Linked DNA regions of Homo sapiens: region 2 is linked to region 1. The links are contacts of gene promoters, found by promoter capture Hi-C in human tissues and cell types (Jung and others, 2019). All regions are on one chromosome and are shown on one strand. The core of a region is centred on a gene start or on the middle of the fragment in contact, and the rest is flanking DNA. Distances in the headings are between cores, read along the strand shown. Region 1 holds the start of ZNF200 (zinc finger protein 200). Region 2 overlaps ZNF597 (zinc finger protein 597).

What was found. The method cuts DNA at HindIII sites, captures the fragments that hold promoters and counts their contacts. A contact is called where the count stands out against the background at its distance.
Region 2: a contact is called between a fragment that was not itself captured here and the fragment with the promoter of ZNF200 in region 1, in 2 of the 25 tissues and cell types used here (IMR-90 fibroblasts and small bowel).

What each region holds. Positions count from the first base shown.
Region 1 is chr16:3,230,600-3,238,428 of GRCh38, reverse strand. It overlaps ZNF200 (zinc finger protein 200), which reads left to right and starts at 3,271. Exons shown (of 5, transcript NM_198088.3): 1 at 3,271-3,442; 2 at 4,593-4,923; 3 at 5,508-5,596; 4 at 5,882-6,008. The coding sequence starts at 4,674. RefSeq lists enhancers at 2,953-3,162, 3,173-3,232. The HindIII fragment of the contact is 11,744 bases long and covers 1-6,436 here.
Region 2 is chr16:3,424,892-3,432,545 of GRCh38, reverse strand. It overlaps ZNF597 (zinc finger protein 597), which reads left to right. Exons shown (of 4, transcript NM_152457.3): 4 at 1-132. Among named protein-coding and RNA genes, the nearest start is that of ZNF597, 15 kb to the left of the region's middle. RefSeq lists a silencer at 348-397 and enhancers at 658-827, 594-1,095. The HindIII fragment of the contact is 6,189 bases long and covers 1,750-7,654 here.

The DNA.
Region 1 (7,829 bases), core at 2,022-4,521:
GCCCTCTTAAATAATTGTATTAATTTGCTTTTAGAATACTGAATATTATTTTTGTAATTATTATTTTAAATTTCATTTCTTTAATTGTATGTGACAATAGCCATCTTTTCATGTTAAAAGGCATTTATAGAGATACATATTGTGTTTACACCCTTAATTTATGGTATCATTTCAAATCCATTTATGTCATTTATTTTACGGATTAGATTCTAAAAACAGGATTCCATCAAATTGTTTTAAAAAATCTTTTTCGTTCTTTTTTTTCCATCAAATTGTTTTAAAAAATCTTTATCGTTCTTTTTTTCCATCAAATTGTTTTAAAAAATCTTTATCGTTCTTTTTTCTTTTTTTTCCGCCCCCACAAGATGGAGTCTTGCTCTGTCACCCAGGCTGGAGTGCAGTGGCATGATCTCAGCTCACTGCAACCTCTGCCTCCCAGGTTCAAATGATTCTCCTGTCTCAGCCTCCTGAGTAGCTGGGATTATAGGCATGCATCACCACGCCCGGCTAATTTTGTATTTTTTAGTAGAGACGGGTTTCACTATGTTAGGCTGCTCTCGAACTCCTGACCTCAGATGATCTGCCCACCTCAGCCTCCAAAAGTGCTGGGATGAGCCACCATGCCCGGCCTATTGTTCTATTTTTTTTTAAGGTTTTATTATTTTTAGTTACCAAATTGACGTGCTCATTAAATGAAGTGACACAATAAAAAAAAAGTGTAATCTCTCCCTTTTCTCCATTTCCATTCCCTCCCTCTGAGTAACCATTTTATTTTTATTTTACGTATTTATTTAGAGACAGAGTCTTACTACTCTGTCGCCCAGGCTGGTGTGCCTGTCACTCAGGCTGGAGTGCAGTGGTGCGATCTTGGCTCACTGTAACGTCCACCTCCACCTCCTGGGTTCAAGCAATTCTTGTGCTTCAGCCTCCTCCCAAGTAGATGAGATTACAGGCACCCGCCACCACGCCCGGCTAATTTTTGTATTTTTAGTACAGATGGGGTTTCCCCATGTTGGCCAGGCTGGTCTTGAACTCCTAACCTCCAGTGATCAGCCCACCTCTGGCTTCCCAAAGTGCTGGGATTACAGGCATGAGCCACTGCGCCTGGCCATCCCATGAGTAACCATTTTAATAATCTATTGTGTATCCCTCAACACAAACATACACAAGGTGTTTTGTTTGTTCCAAAAATATAATTATGCATAATATATGTAGCTCTGAAACTTTTTCATGTAATATTTTATGGCCATCCCTCCAGGTGTACATATAGTTCCAATCCATTCTTTTTCATAGCTGGGTAATTTCCAGAGTATGAATGCACCAATTTACTCCTTTCCTTACGTATGAACATGCATGTCATTTCTAGTTTTTGTCACTACAAAGAATTCTACAAGAAATTTGTAGACATCAGATTCACAGATGAGATTGTGAAGGTCAAAGGGTACATACTTGTACTTTTAATTTTAATATATATTACAAGATGACTTCACACACCACACTACCAGCGAAAGGAGTGCCTATTTCTCCACCTTCATTGTTTGATAGGTGAAAAATGTGGTTCCCTTTAAAAGTGATAATCTTGACTAGTAGTGTGGTTAAGCATCTTTTTAAATGTTAATGACCAATTAGTTTTCCTCCTCTCGGGAAGAGCTCCTCATTGCCTTTGCTTTTTGTCAGTTGGCAGGGGTTCATTTTGTCTTAGGAATGTATAATCTTTTGTGTAGCTAATCTTTACAATTATCTTCCAGTCTATTTCTTGTTTGTTAACAGAGTCAAGAAAAAGTTCTTAAAAAATACAATCACACAGGTTTATATTTTACTTCAAGACATCTCAGTTATCTGTTTTGCCTCATAATTCAAACCATAATGCTTTGATTAACGGAGGCTTTTTAGTAAATTTTGATCTGAAAAGGCAGATATTCCTTATTTTTCTAGAATGTCTTGGTGCCACACAGTTTTCATACTCGTTTCTTTGTAACATATTTTAAGCCATCGTCAGCCATTAGTCAGGTATAATTAACTTTAAGAAGAGGCATTCATTTATATTTTTACTTTTGTCAACTTTCTGGAGGCTGGTATTACATCGAGAAATAAGGCCATCCCTGCCCACAAGTTGTCCGAACCCTGATCAGTGCGTCACTGGGGAACGAACCGAGTGTGGATACAACGCACAAACACAAAACTCTGTTCGGCCTCCGTAGGAAGCTGAAATTGAGAAAGGAAACCGAGACAGTAGGAGAAGGGCAATTAAGATGTCTTTAAAAACAAGACGGCCGGTGCGGACAGCAGTGTAGAAGTTAGCAAGCTGGAGTGGGCAATGTCGGTGCCCCATCTCTAACCTATGGGAGTCACCAGAGCGGGGGCGGAGTCCCATGGCGGCCACACCCTGTCCGCCTCCGCAGTCTTTTTACTGGAGAACCGCAGTAAAAGGCGGAAACCGCGGAGGCGTCTTGATTTTCCGGTCGGAGAGATAGCTTGCTTCCTTTAAGCCTCGGGGTAGGGGGGTGGGGAGGGTAGGGGGGTGGGGAGGGTAGGGGGGTGGGGAGGGTAGGGGGGTGGGGGGGTGGGGAGGGTAGGGGGTGGGGGGGTGGGGAGAGTAGGGGGGTGGGGAGAGTAGGGGGGTGGGGAGAGTAGGGGGTGGGGGGGTGGGGAGAGTAGGGGGGTGGGGAGAGTAGGGGGTGGGGAGAGTAGGGGGGTGGGGAGAGTAGGGGGGTGGGGAGAGTAGGGGGGTGGGGGTTGGGGGGTGGCGCCGTGGGGGGTGGCGGGGTGGGGGGTGGGGGGTGGGGAGAGTAGGGGGGTGGGGGGTGGGGAGAGTAGGGCGGTGGGGGAGTGGCGGGGTAGGGGGGTGGCGGGGTGGGGGGTGGGGGGAGCGCGGGCGCTGGGTGGGCGGGGGGTGGGGCGGTGGGGGGGCCTGCCCCGCCCCAACCGCCGCGCCTGACGGTCGTCCATTGGTTGTTTGCATTCGAACTACATTTCCCAGCAGGCCCTGGGGTTAGACTGGCCGCAGCTGGAGAGGTGCCAGCCCGTCGTGGATGACTAGAGCCAACCACCTGCCTTCCGTCTTCCAGGCAGAACCACAGAGAGGCTACAGCCGTCCTGGCCTCCCTCCGGCCCTGAGAGCTCCTCTGGCCTGTCTCAAGTCTTAACGTCTCAAGCGCAGACTGCCGGCTCCGAACGGGGAGACCAGGCTTCTGCACCGGAAACAAGGCACCGGTTGTGACGTCACAGCCGCAGAGCGCCCGACTTCCCAGAAGGCACCGAGTCCCTGCCGTTCTCCTCAACTGGCGGCGGCGCGAACGAATAGTCGCCGGCGACCTGTGAGGGCACTCGGAAGGGCGAGGGGAGGGCTCGACCGCTCGCGCCTAGTTTTTCTATCTCTCCCGGAGCCTGAGTCTCTGAGCCGTCCCCAGCAAACGCTCAGGGGCTGCAGAGGCCCCGAGAGGTGAGGGGCTCCGTGAGGGCGGGAACCAGGCTGAGGCCGCCTCTGGGGAGCGGAGCGTGTCCGTTGCTGAGGGAGCAAGGCCGGGTAGGGAGCCTGGTGAGCGCCTCAGGCAGGGGCGCACGCTGAGCTTTACGGTAAAGGTGTTCCTTGACCAGCGGAAGAGGCCCCAGAGTGAGCCTGGCCCGGCGGTCCTTAGTGGGATGTCGCCTGCCGCTCTCAGCAGAGCTTTGACGGCGGAGAGGAGTCGGCAGGCGGTGTGTGGACACCTCCTCGGCCTTGCATCTGCTCCCCGGGAGAGTCACCAACCGCCTCCCCGCCCAAAGGGCACCGGAGGGAGCTTCGGTTCGAGGGGTACAGTATGGCCAGATTCAGTGACCAACCTGCTTTTAGGCAGATGTCCTCGGTATTGACCCCAGATTTCCTGTCTTCTAGCCCATTGCTCTTTCTCCAAGCCTGATTTAACCTATTCCTGGTGGGTTTTACACACCGTCTTTCTTTCTGTCTTTTCTTTCTTTTTCCTTTTATTTTCTTTCTCTTCCCTGATTCCCTTCCTCCTTCTTTCCTTTCTCTTTTCCTTTCTTTTTTTAGAGTCAGGGTCTTGCTTTGTCGCTCAGACTGCAGTGCAGTGGCGCGATCACAGTTCACTGCAGCCTCGACCTCCTGGGCACAAGCAATCCTCCCAGCTCCCCAGTAGCTGGGACCACAGGCTTGTGTCGCCACGCCCAGCTAATTTTTTTTTTTTTTATGGAGTCGGTGTCTTGCTGTGTTGCCCAGGCTGGTCTTGAACTCCTGGACTCAAGCGATCCACCCGCCAGGGCCTTCCAAAGTGCTGGGATTACAGGTGTGAGCCACCGGTACCTGGCCACACTTTGTATTTCTCAGGAGGCTGGACCTTGGCCTTCTCCGCTCCACCCTTACTCCCTTCCCTTTGGACTTGAGGTTTGCACAGTCTCTGTTTTTCATTCTCAGGATCTTCCTTTCACATCTTCCTAAGCATATCTTGTTCAAATACTGCGTTTCAGTTATGATTTCCCTATCCCAGCTGTCGTTTTCTTTAGATCTCATGTAGCCTCACCAGCCATGCCACATATTGGAGTGCAGTAATGCCGTGCCTGGTCTTTTGGGTAATCCCTGGTTTCTCTGTCTACAGCTTGGCTCTCTGGCAGATTTCCTCTAGTAAGAGGTGGCTCTGGAGGCCCCGCGAAACGAGTGTGGTGTGTGGTTGCAAGGCATGATGGCTGCAAAAGTGGTTCCTATGCCCCCAAAGCCAAAGCAGTCCTTTATACTGAGAGTTCCGCCAGACTCCAAGCTGGGCCAAGACCTACTTCGAGATGCCACTAACGGGCCCAAGACCATCCACCAGCTAGTGCTGGAGCACTTCCTCACCTTCTTGCCCAAGCCAAGCCTGGTCCAGCCCAGTCAGAAAGTCAAGGAGACCTTGGTTATTATGAAAGATGTGAGCTCAAGCCTTCAGAACAGAGGTGAGAAGCACATGCTTGTTTCACTAGAAGAGGAGGAGGAGGTACTGGAGTCTAAGATAGGTTTCTGTGTTAGTTATAAATTCAAGTTAGGATGGTGTATATTGGAAAAGGAGTCAATTCTAGTGTTGGAAAGAGGAAGTTCTTCTCAAGTGCTGGGTGTGAGTAAGGCCACAGAATAAACAGTGTGCATCTTTCTGTAGTGTCAGTTTTACCCAAACATTCTGAGGGAAATATCTTTTAAGGATAAATCAGATGAATTATTGAGTTAGGTTGATGTGGAATTTTAGAAATTTTGTGCTTTTTCTGGGCATCTTCACACTTTACGTTGCCCTAAGCTCTCCTTTAGTAATACTCTATGGGAAATTCTGAAAGGTGCTTAGAGAAGTCATTCTTTTCATAACAGGGAGATGCCATAGGTTCAAGACCCTAGAGTTTATGGCTTGAACTCTATAAGGGCTCACAGGAGCAGAAAAGGCCATGAGTTACCTGTCAAAGGAATGAGGACAGCCTGGCCTCGCGGTATGGGGAGTCTCTGTGTTAGAGTCACTGAGTTTTTCACTAACTAAACCTTCCTCTTTCCCCAGTGCATCCTCGTCCCTTGGTGAAGCTTCTGCCCAAAGGAGTCCAAAAGGAACAAGAGACAGTGTCTCTGTATTTGAAAGCTAACCCTGAGGTGGGTTTGGTTTTCCCATTTACTGCCTGAATCCATCACCTTCCGTGCTTGGCCAACCTGTGTGTAAAAACACATTCTTAGGAGTTGGCCTTCTTGGGTGTTTTTCTTCTGCTTTTTCCTTGAGCCCTTCTCAGCCTGGCTGTCCTGTCTTTGCTGCACCTCTGTGGGATTTATAGGTCCCTCTTGCTATCCCTTCCCTTGATCTTTGTGTGTCAGCTTTTCTTACCAGTAGGGCTGTCAGTGAACCTCAGTTACTAAGATGAAAGGGGCCTCTTGCTCTTTCAGGAGCTGGTGGTCTTTGAGGATTTGAATGTATTTCACTGCCAGGAAGAATGTGTGAGCTTGGATCCTACTCAACAACTCACGTCAGAGAAGGAAGATGACAGCAGTGTCGGGGAAATGATGTTACTGGGTAAGAAATCACAGCCTTTGTGTGTTCAGGTTGTTTGCTTTGGGAAAAGCATGTCCTTCATCTCTTTAGCTTTGGGGGACGATTCACACCTGGTAAGCCTATGTGCACACACACATTTTATTTTACTTTTGTTTTATTCAATGTAGCAGAGCCTTGCCACAGAACTCCAGCTGTGGGTGGGTGGCCATTTTTCCCTGTATCTTGGGGGCAGTGAGGGGAGAGGTAGGGAAAACCTGCAGACATAGAAACTGTGGATATAGAAACTGTTCTGAACCCATTTTCTGAACTCTGTTCTCAACAGGTATATTTGAATGTTTTCATTGAACACATGACTAACTCTTGTAATCCCCCTCCCCTTTTTGATGTTCAATAGATGTGAAGACTACTAGCCTAAGTGAAAATATATTCCACTATTGGTGAAAGTAATGTTTAACACTTAATGAGCACTTATATGCTGTTACATGCTAGGCACTAGTCCAAATGCTTTTCATGTGTTTATTCTCTCATGTACTTCTCAGAGTAATACTGAGTGGTATAGAAATTACTGCCACCTTACAGGTGACAGAACTGAGGCAGAGAGGGGTTACAAAATTTGCTAAAGTTCACACAGTTGTAAGTAGGGGAACAGGGATTCGGACTCAGGGAATCTGACATCAGAATTTGCAGTAATGGCCCAGGGCTGTACTGTCTCCTAGATGCATTTCTCATAATTTTGTCAATGAATTCCGTGTATGGTTGGTGAATGGGGCATTCTTTATTTGTCCTCATTTCCCAGTAATAGTTGACAAGTGTCCCCCAGTGCTGTGTATGAACTGATCAAGCAGCAGCCTCTCTATAATTTGCTTAGAGATGCTTTACCTTTTCTCTAGAAATGTTGCAACCCTAGAGGCAGAGGCCCGCACAAATGTCTTTACTGAGTGCCGGACACTTTTTACTTTGCCTTCAGGGCTTTTTGTTTCTGAGGGTGAAGTTGTACAGAGAATAGGTTTTAGAAGTTGCCTGGGGTGACAGAAATCCATTATGACTGTCAAACTCTTAGCTGTAATTATACCGTATGGTCAGAAGTATTGGTATGTAATGAGTGTAGTTAATTTCCCGCAGGTTGCTCTATGTGATATCTTCTTTATTTTAGAGAAAAGGATAAAAAGATCAGATTTATTAACACTGAGTTTTTCCTGAGTCTTGGGCAGAGCTGGCATTTATTTTGGGTGACTGGTTAGTGGATATATTGCCTCCAAGATCACTTCGACTATGCACTTCAGGGCCCCTAAGACCCAATCCTCACCCTCTGTTCCCCACTTCCTCCACCCGTACCCTGAAGCTGGTGGCTTAAGCTTAGTCATTTACCAGCATTTCATAAATGTACTAGTTTTTTCCTCAGGCAGGATTGGGTTCTGGAATTGTATTCATCAGGTTACGAAGATGTTATATTCTTGCCTTTTGTAATCTTCCAATTTGGTTTGTAAGACAAGTCATTCATCAAACGATAAGCAGTGTGAAATTTTTATAGGTATAATGAGCTATCGCAAGACTGAGGTAAGATTTGGACCCGGGGCAGAGTAGTGAAGAAGGTGGAATTGATTTTGGATGAGATTGAATCCATGATGGGAAATAAAATGAGATTATCCTCCAGATATTTGGAAATTGGGGATTGGAGTTCAGATGTGAGGATATAGGGATTGGGGAGCCATCAATTTATAGGTGATGATAATTGAAACAGTAACATTTAACCAATTTTTGCAAAGGAAAAACTATAACGGATTGAACATTGTGGTGGCAGGAATCAAAGAACAGTCCTTGATAACCTAGGGAAACAGAGAA
Region 2 (7,654 bases), core at 3,595-6,094, 190 kb before region 1:
TCAATGTTTTGGGTCTTACTCTTTTTGACGTATTCTCATCAGTCTTCACTCTAGTTTGCAAGCTCTGAAGTTATTGATTACGTCTAATGTGCAATTTGGCTTCTATTAAATGCTATTTTATGATGATGGCAATGAAGTGAACTTTTTAAAAAAAATACGTGGTTTTAGGTGGCAATCAGGTTAATTTTGAAGACTGTTAGGATTCTGGTTTAGAGACAGAGAGTGAAGGACTTCGTGCTACTTAATAAGGGAAGTAAAATCGCTTGCTCCCTGGAACTCAGCAGAAAATTCTGGGTCATTCTGGGAAGCTAGCGCTAGACCTCAATTTCCTTTCGTCTTTGCTGTACACAGAAGTACAGGGGCAAGGACCTCTGTCTTCACGGAGCAGCTACTGCCTGGCACGGGTTGCCACTTAAAGCTTGGATTCCGAGTAGCGGATGTGGTGAGTAGGACTCCCAGAAGACCTCGCGCGGCCTCAGGGAGATCCTGGGTCTCCAGCTTGGCCACCAACTGCACGGGTCAGCGGAAGTGTCAACGAGATGACTTGCGCTACAGCGGCACACTGGTGAGGAACCGGAAGCCACGAGCCGAGCCACTTCCGGTGCCCGCTTCCGGTAGCGCCTGCGCATTCCTGGGGCAAGTGGACTGTGGTGAACGGTGGAGATCCAGTGGTGGGGTTTGGCCATGTGCCTGGCCATATCCACTGCATATCGCTAGGTGATCTCCGTGTAAATCTAGCAGTACGGGTAAGAGTGTTTGCGGAGGAACTCCTCAGGTCTCTTCCTCCGCATCAGCAGGAGGGTATCATGGGTGTGACTGTCGGGCACTAACACGAATCTCCATCCCATGATTCTAGGCGTTAGGACTGGAGAAGCAGCTCCGGGCCACCGTCCCAGCTCTAATCTCACTTAGGCAATGCAGAGCTGTGGGCCTGACTACCACGTGTGTCTCTGGCTTGTTGAAATGGGCACTTTGTACATCTCACTTGTGCTGGGTAGAGTGTCTTTTCTTTAGAACCAGTACCAATCTCTTAGGCTTTTGGCATTCTCTGCAGCCAAATTCTAACATGCTTCTACTTAGCTGGAATGTACCCTCGGCTTACCTTTGGTAAATGGTATCTCCCCAGGTGAGCTTAGCCACTTCCATGGCTACAAAGACCTCATTTTAGGTCTAGCTCCAATTTCTTTTCTATGTACTCCAGATTCCTACATTCAGGTGCCTACAGGAGTCGTCTTTTAGATGTCTCTCAGGCATCAAAACACATGCCCTTAACTCATGCTTTTAGCCCCTGATCTGTTTGCCTCCAGTATGTGGGGCCACATCCATACAATTGCTCATGCTATCAACAAACACTCCCTCTTTCCTCTTGCTATGGCTTGAATATTTGTGTACCCTAAAAATTCATGTGTTGGAATTCTAACACTTAAACTGATGTTATTAGGAGGTGGGGACTTTGGCAGACCCCTCATGATTGGGATTAGTGTCCTTATAAAAGAGACTGCAGGCCGGGTGTGGTGGCTTACGTCTGTAATCCCAGTGCTTTGGGAGGCCAAGGTGTGAGAATTGCTTAAAGCCAGGAGTTCAAGACCGGCCTGGGAAACATAGCGACACGCCATCTTTTCAAAAAATTTATTTAGCCCGGTGTGGTGGCTGGTGCTTGTAGTCCTAGCTACTTGGGAGGCTGAGGCAGGAGGATTGCTTGAGCCCAGGAAGTTGAGGTTACAGTGAACTATGATTGGCCCACTGTACTCGAGCCTGTGAGGACCCAGCAAGAAGGTGCCATTGTGGAAATGGCCCTCACCAGACAATGAATCTGCCAGCACCTTGATCTGGGTTTCCTAGCCTCTAGAACTATGAGAAAAAAATTTCTGTTGTTTATAAACTACCTGGCTTATGGTAACTTTTTATAGAAGCCAGAACAGACTAAGACATCACATCCACTCAATCATCAAGTCTCATGGATTCTACCTCAAAAGTATCACCAAAACCTGAATGTTTCTGTCTCCCCTGTCCCCATCCTATCCAACAGTACTCACCTGGGTTACCTGAAAGAGCCCGCTGATGACTTTCATATCACACTTGTTCTCTGTCAACACAGCTAACACACTGCCATTTAATAAAAGAAGTATTAAAAAATGTTTGCTCCCTGAAACTCAGCAGAAAATTCCAGCATTATTGCGGGAAGACAACACTAGATGTTCATCTTTCCAGTCTTTGCTGCACAGAACTAGAGGGCCAGGTACCAGATGATTATGATGATTTCATCATCCAATTTGACACCTTCCATTGGCTTCCCATTGTCCTTAGGGACATTTAAATTTTCAACATGACCTTCCTAGTCATTACTTCCCTGCCAGTGTCAACTCCAGCTGTTCTTTTTCTCTTACCCCTCTCCAGCTACACTTTCTCTCAATTCATCAAACATACCAAGCTCTTTGAGAATTGTGCACATACTTTTCCTTTTACTTGGAACATCCCTTTCAATTCCTACATTCTTTGTTTTACCCTCCTTATAGCAATATGCTTGTAATTGAATATTAATTATGTAACTAATAAAATTTCATTGTCTCCATGGGAGGAGAGACCAGGAACATGGTAGATGCTTAAAATTATGCACTGATTGAAACTACTACGGCTCTGTCACTTTTATACCATTGGTTTCAGCTTAAAGACTGACAGAGGGCCGGGTGCAGTGGCTCATGCCTGTGATCCCAGCACTTTGGGAGGCCGAGGTGGGCAGATTACGAGGTCAGGAGTTCGAGACCAGCCTGGCCAATATGGTGAAACCCCATCTCTACTAAAAAAAATACAAAAATTAGCCGGGCATGGTGGTGCGCATCTGTAGTCGCAGCTAGTTGGGAGGCTGAGGCAGGAGAATCGCTTGAACCCAGGAGGCGGAAGTTGCAGTGAGCCGAGATTGTGCCACTGCACTCCAGCCTGGGCAACAGAGTGAGACTTTGTCAAAAAAAAAAAAAAAAAGAAAGGAGAATAGATACTGGTGCTGTCACTTACTAGTAGGCAAGAGGTGTAACAGTGTACCCAAAGAAGCTGTAAGGAGTTTAGAAAAAAACTAAGAAAGCTTCCAGGATAAATATATAATGATACCTTATAGGCTTGAAGGTAATAATTTAGCAAAGATGGCCGGTGCAGTGGCTCACACCTGTAATCCCAGCACTTTGGGAGGTCAAGGCAGGAGGATTACTTGAGGCCAGAAGTTCCAGACCAGCCTGGGCAACATAATAAGACCCATCTCTACCAAAAATTTAAAAATTAGGCCGGGCACAGTGGCTCACGCCTGTAATCCCAGCCCTTTGGGAGACCAAGGCAGGCAGATCACGGGGTCAAGAGATTGAGACCATCCTGGCCAACATGGTGAAACCCCATCTCTACTAAAAATACAAAACAAAAATAGCTGGTCATGGTGGCACGCACCTGTAGTCCCAGCTACTTGGGAGGCTGACACAGGAGAATTGCTTGAACCCAGGAGGTGGAGGTTGCAGTGAGCCAAGATCGCGCCACTGCACTCCAGCCTGGGGGACAAAGGGAGACTCTGTCTGAAAAAAAAAAAAAAAAAGCCGGGCGTAGTGGCACATGCCTGTAGTCCCAGCTACTCAGGAGGCTAAGGTGATAGGATCACTTGAGCCTGGGTGGAGGCTGTAGTGAGCTGTGATTGTTCCACCGTACTCACCCTGGGTGACAGAATGAGAACTCCCTCCCTGCCCAAAAAAAAAGTTTCATTTCACTGATTGGGCATCAACAAGATACAGAATGGGAGACTCCTGACTTTCTTTCCTTCCATGGATGCACTGAATAAGTATCTACACATGGATCAGTTCTCTCTGAGAGAAATATAGAAACTAGTTGAGACTCCCACACACTGGCAACTGATAATATATCCACATCAAAATGGATACCAACAAATTGAGACACAATGTAAACCAAAAACCTGGGCACAGTATCTTACAATTGGGAAGGAATCCCGAAATACCAGATTTTTGAAGAATGAAGGGTTGAGGCCAGACATATCGCTCCCAAACTTAAACAGTTTCCACGTGAGAGTTTGGCTCCTAAATCTTCTTATCCCGGGAATGGCAGGGTTTAGTATTTGTGAGTCCCCTGAGAAAAAAGGACATTTTATTTATTTATTTATTTATTTATTTATTTAGAGACAGAGTTTTGCTTTTTTCACCCAGGTTGTAGTGCAATGGCACAATATTGGCTTACTGCAACTTCCGCCTCCTGGGCTCAAGCGATTCTCCTGCCTTAGGCTATAGAGTAGGCGGGATTACAGGCGCACACCACCATGCCCAGCTAATTTTGTGGGGTTTTTTTTTTTTGTTTGTTTGTTTTTTTTGAGACAGAGTCTCTCTCTGTTGCCCAGGTTGGAGTGCAGTGGCGCAATCTCAACTCACTGCAACCTCTGCCTCCTGGGTTCAAGCGATTCTCCTGCCTCAGCCTCTCGAGTAGCTGGGACTACAGGCACTTGCCACCATGCCTGGCTAATTTTTTGTATTTTTAGTAGAGATGGGGTTTCACAGTGTTAGGATGGTCTCGATCTCCTGATCTTGTGATCCACCCGCCTCAGCCTCCCAAAGTGCTGGGATTACAGGTGTGAGCCACCATGCCCAGCCATAAGAGGACATTTTAAACAGGTATGTGAGCACTTTCAGCGGCTGTCCCCCAGGGTCAGTGCAGAGCAAGCAGGCAGAAATGCACCATCTGCTGGGCACCATGGCTCATGCCTGTAATCCCAGTGCTTTGAGATGCTGAGGCAGAGGATCACTTGAGGCCAGGAGTTTGAAAACAGCCTGGGGAACATACAAACACCCTGCCTCTACCAAAACAAAAAAAAATTTTTTTTAATTAGCCAGGTGTGGTGACATATGCCTATAGTCCTAGCTACTCAGGATGCTGAGGCAGGATGATCGCTTGAGCCCAAGATTCAGGGTTGCACTGAGCTATGATGGAGCCACTGCGTTACAGCCTAGGTGGCAGAGTGAGACCCTGTCTCTAAAAAAAAAGAAAAGAAACAAAAGAATTTAAAAAAGCAGTTCCACAGTCTCCCTAAAAGGGATTTATCTACACATTTTTCCCAACTGCTGCCTGAACGCTGGGCTTCTAAGTAGCCTACATCGAGTAGCTGATAGGGCTGGTAAACAATAGACCTCCAGGAGCATGAACAGGCATGTGGGAACTTCACTGTCGTTCTCCCCTCTGCCACTACTCCATTCAGAGATAAAACTAGGGGCCAGGCACGGTGGCTCACCCCTGTAATCCCAGCACTTTGGGTGGCCAAGGCAGGTGGATCAGTGGAGGTCAGGAGTTCAAGACCAGCCTGGTCAACATGGTGAAACCCTCTCTCTGTTAAAAAATACAAAAAGTTACCTGGGCATGGTTGGGGGTTGTCAGGGAGGTGCACCTGTAATCCCAGCTACTCCGGAGGCTGAGGCAGGAGAATGGCTTGAACTCAGGAGGCAGAGGTGGCAGTGAGCTGAGATTGTGCCACTCTACTTCTGCCTGGGTGACAGAGTGAGACTCTGTCTCAAAAATAAAACAACAAAACAAAAAAAAACTAGGCTTCTAGCTTCTTCCTGGACAGTGTACCCCAACTTTTACAGCTTCCACCCAAGGGACCAGCTTCTAAGCTCCTAAATCATCTGTCTCTGGGAATTGATAAGACTGCATTCACAAGTCCCCCTAGACTACAGAGAAGAAAAGTGATTTTAAAAGAGTGTTTGAGCAGTTCTAGCATCCGTTTCCCCTAACTCAGTACAAAGCGAGCAGACAAAAACACCCAGTTCCCAGTTTACCCCCAGGAAGGGGTTTGACTGCACACCTAACGTCCCAACTTTCCCAGCCGCTGTCCATGAGTCAGGCCTCTAGCCTATATCTGGGCACTGACAGGGCAGGCAATAAGTAGTCCTCTGGGAGCCTGAATGGGCATGCAGTTGCTTCCCGCAATTCCTTTTGCAGGCTCACTCTAGAGATGGAGCCAAGCCTCTGAACAATCCATCTGTCCTGGACAGTAGATGGGAGCTGCAATTGACTAGGCCCCTGGGGGTAACAACACATTAGGCAATGGGTTGAAAGAGTATGTGGTCTGAATGAGAATGCAGGCATTTGCTTGGGATTATCTCCCCAGCTTAGTACAGGGCAAGTGGGAGATCAACACCAGTTCCCAGCTTCTCCTTGAGGATAGAAGGAACTGGAACACATATAACACCCCAACTTTTCTAGCTAAATTTCAGTAACTGGCTTCAATATCACCAGTCTTGGGGCACTGATGGCATTTGGTGCACCCCAATCTCTTGGGGCTACTAAGAACAAAGACAGCAGTTTGTACAAGCACAAAAGTTTGAGAGGTGCCTAGAATCTGGTTGGGTTGATTGGTGAGGTTCATCTCCTACGAAAAATCAGATATTAAGACTTGGAAAGAGAGTTGTCTTATCTAATGCATGAAAATCAACACAGTCAACAAAAAAATCAAGAAATAGAAAATACGTTCCAAACAAAAGATGAAGAAATCTCCAGAAACCAATTCCAATGAAATACAGATCAGTGATTTTACCTATTAGAGAATTAAAAATAGGCTGGGTGCAGTGGCTCATGCCTGTAATCCTAGCACTGTGGGAGACCGAGGCGGGTGGATCACCTGAGGTCAGATGTTCGAGACTAGCCTGGCCAACATGGTGAAACCTCATCTCTACTAAAAATACAGAAATCAGCCAGGCGTGGTGGCGGGCACCTGTAATCCCAGCTACTCGGAAGGCTGAGACAGGAGAATCGCTTGAACCTGGGAGGTGGAGGTTGCAGTGAACCAAGATCGTGTCATTGCACTCCAGCCTAGGCAACAGAGCAAAACGTCCTCTCAAAAAAAAAAAAAGAGAATTAAAAATAATCATAAATATGCTCACTGATGTCAGGAGTATAATGTATGAACAAACCGAGACTTTCAACAAAGAGAAAATACAAAAACAAGGGTTGGCATGGTGGCTCACACTGTCATCCCAGCACTTTGGGAGGCCAAGGTGGGAGGATTGCTTGAGGTTAGGAGTTCAAGACCAGCCTGGTTTACATAGTAAGACCCCATGTCTACAAAAAATTAAAAATTAGCCTGGCATGGTGGCATACGCCTGTGGTCCCAGCTCCTCTGGGGGCTGAGGTGGGAGGATCACTTCAGCCTGGGATGCCAAGGCTGCAGTGAGCTGTTATCACACCACTGCACTCCAGCCTGGGTGACTGAGTGAGACCCTGTCTCAGAAAAAGGAGAAAATTTAAAAACATACCAAACAGAAGTTATAGATCTGAAGTACATAATAACTCATCTGAAAAATTCTCTAGAGGGTTTCACTCACAGACTAGGTCAAGCAGAAAAAAGAGTCAGTGAATTTGAAGACCAGCCATTGGAAATTATCCAACCAGAGGGGCAAAAATGAGAAAAAAAGAAAGAGTGAGGATAGATTAAGGTACTTAAGGGACACCATCGAGTAGACTAATGTATGCATTAGTGGATTTTCAGAAGGCAGAGAGAGCAAAACGGACAGAAAGCATATTCAAACAAACAGTGGCTGAAACCCTTCCAAAACTGGGGAATGAAATAGAAATCAAGACCCAAGAAGTCCAAGGGACATGAAATAAGATGAATCCTGCCAGG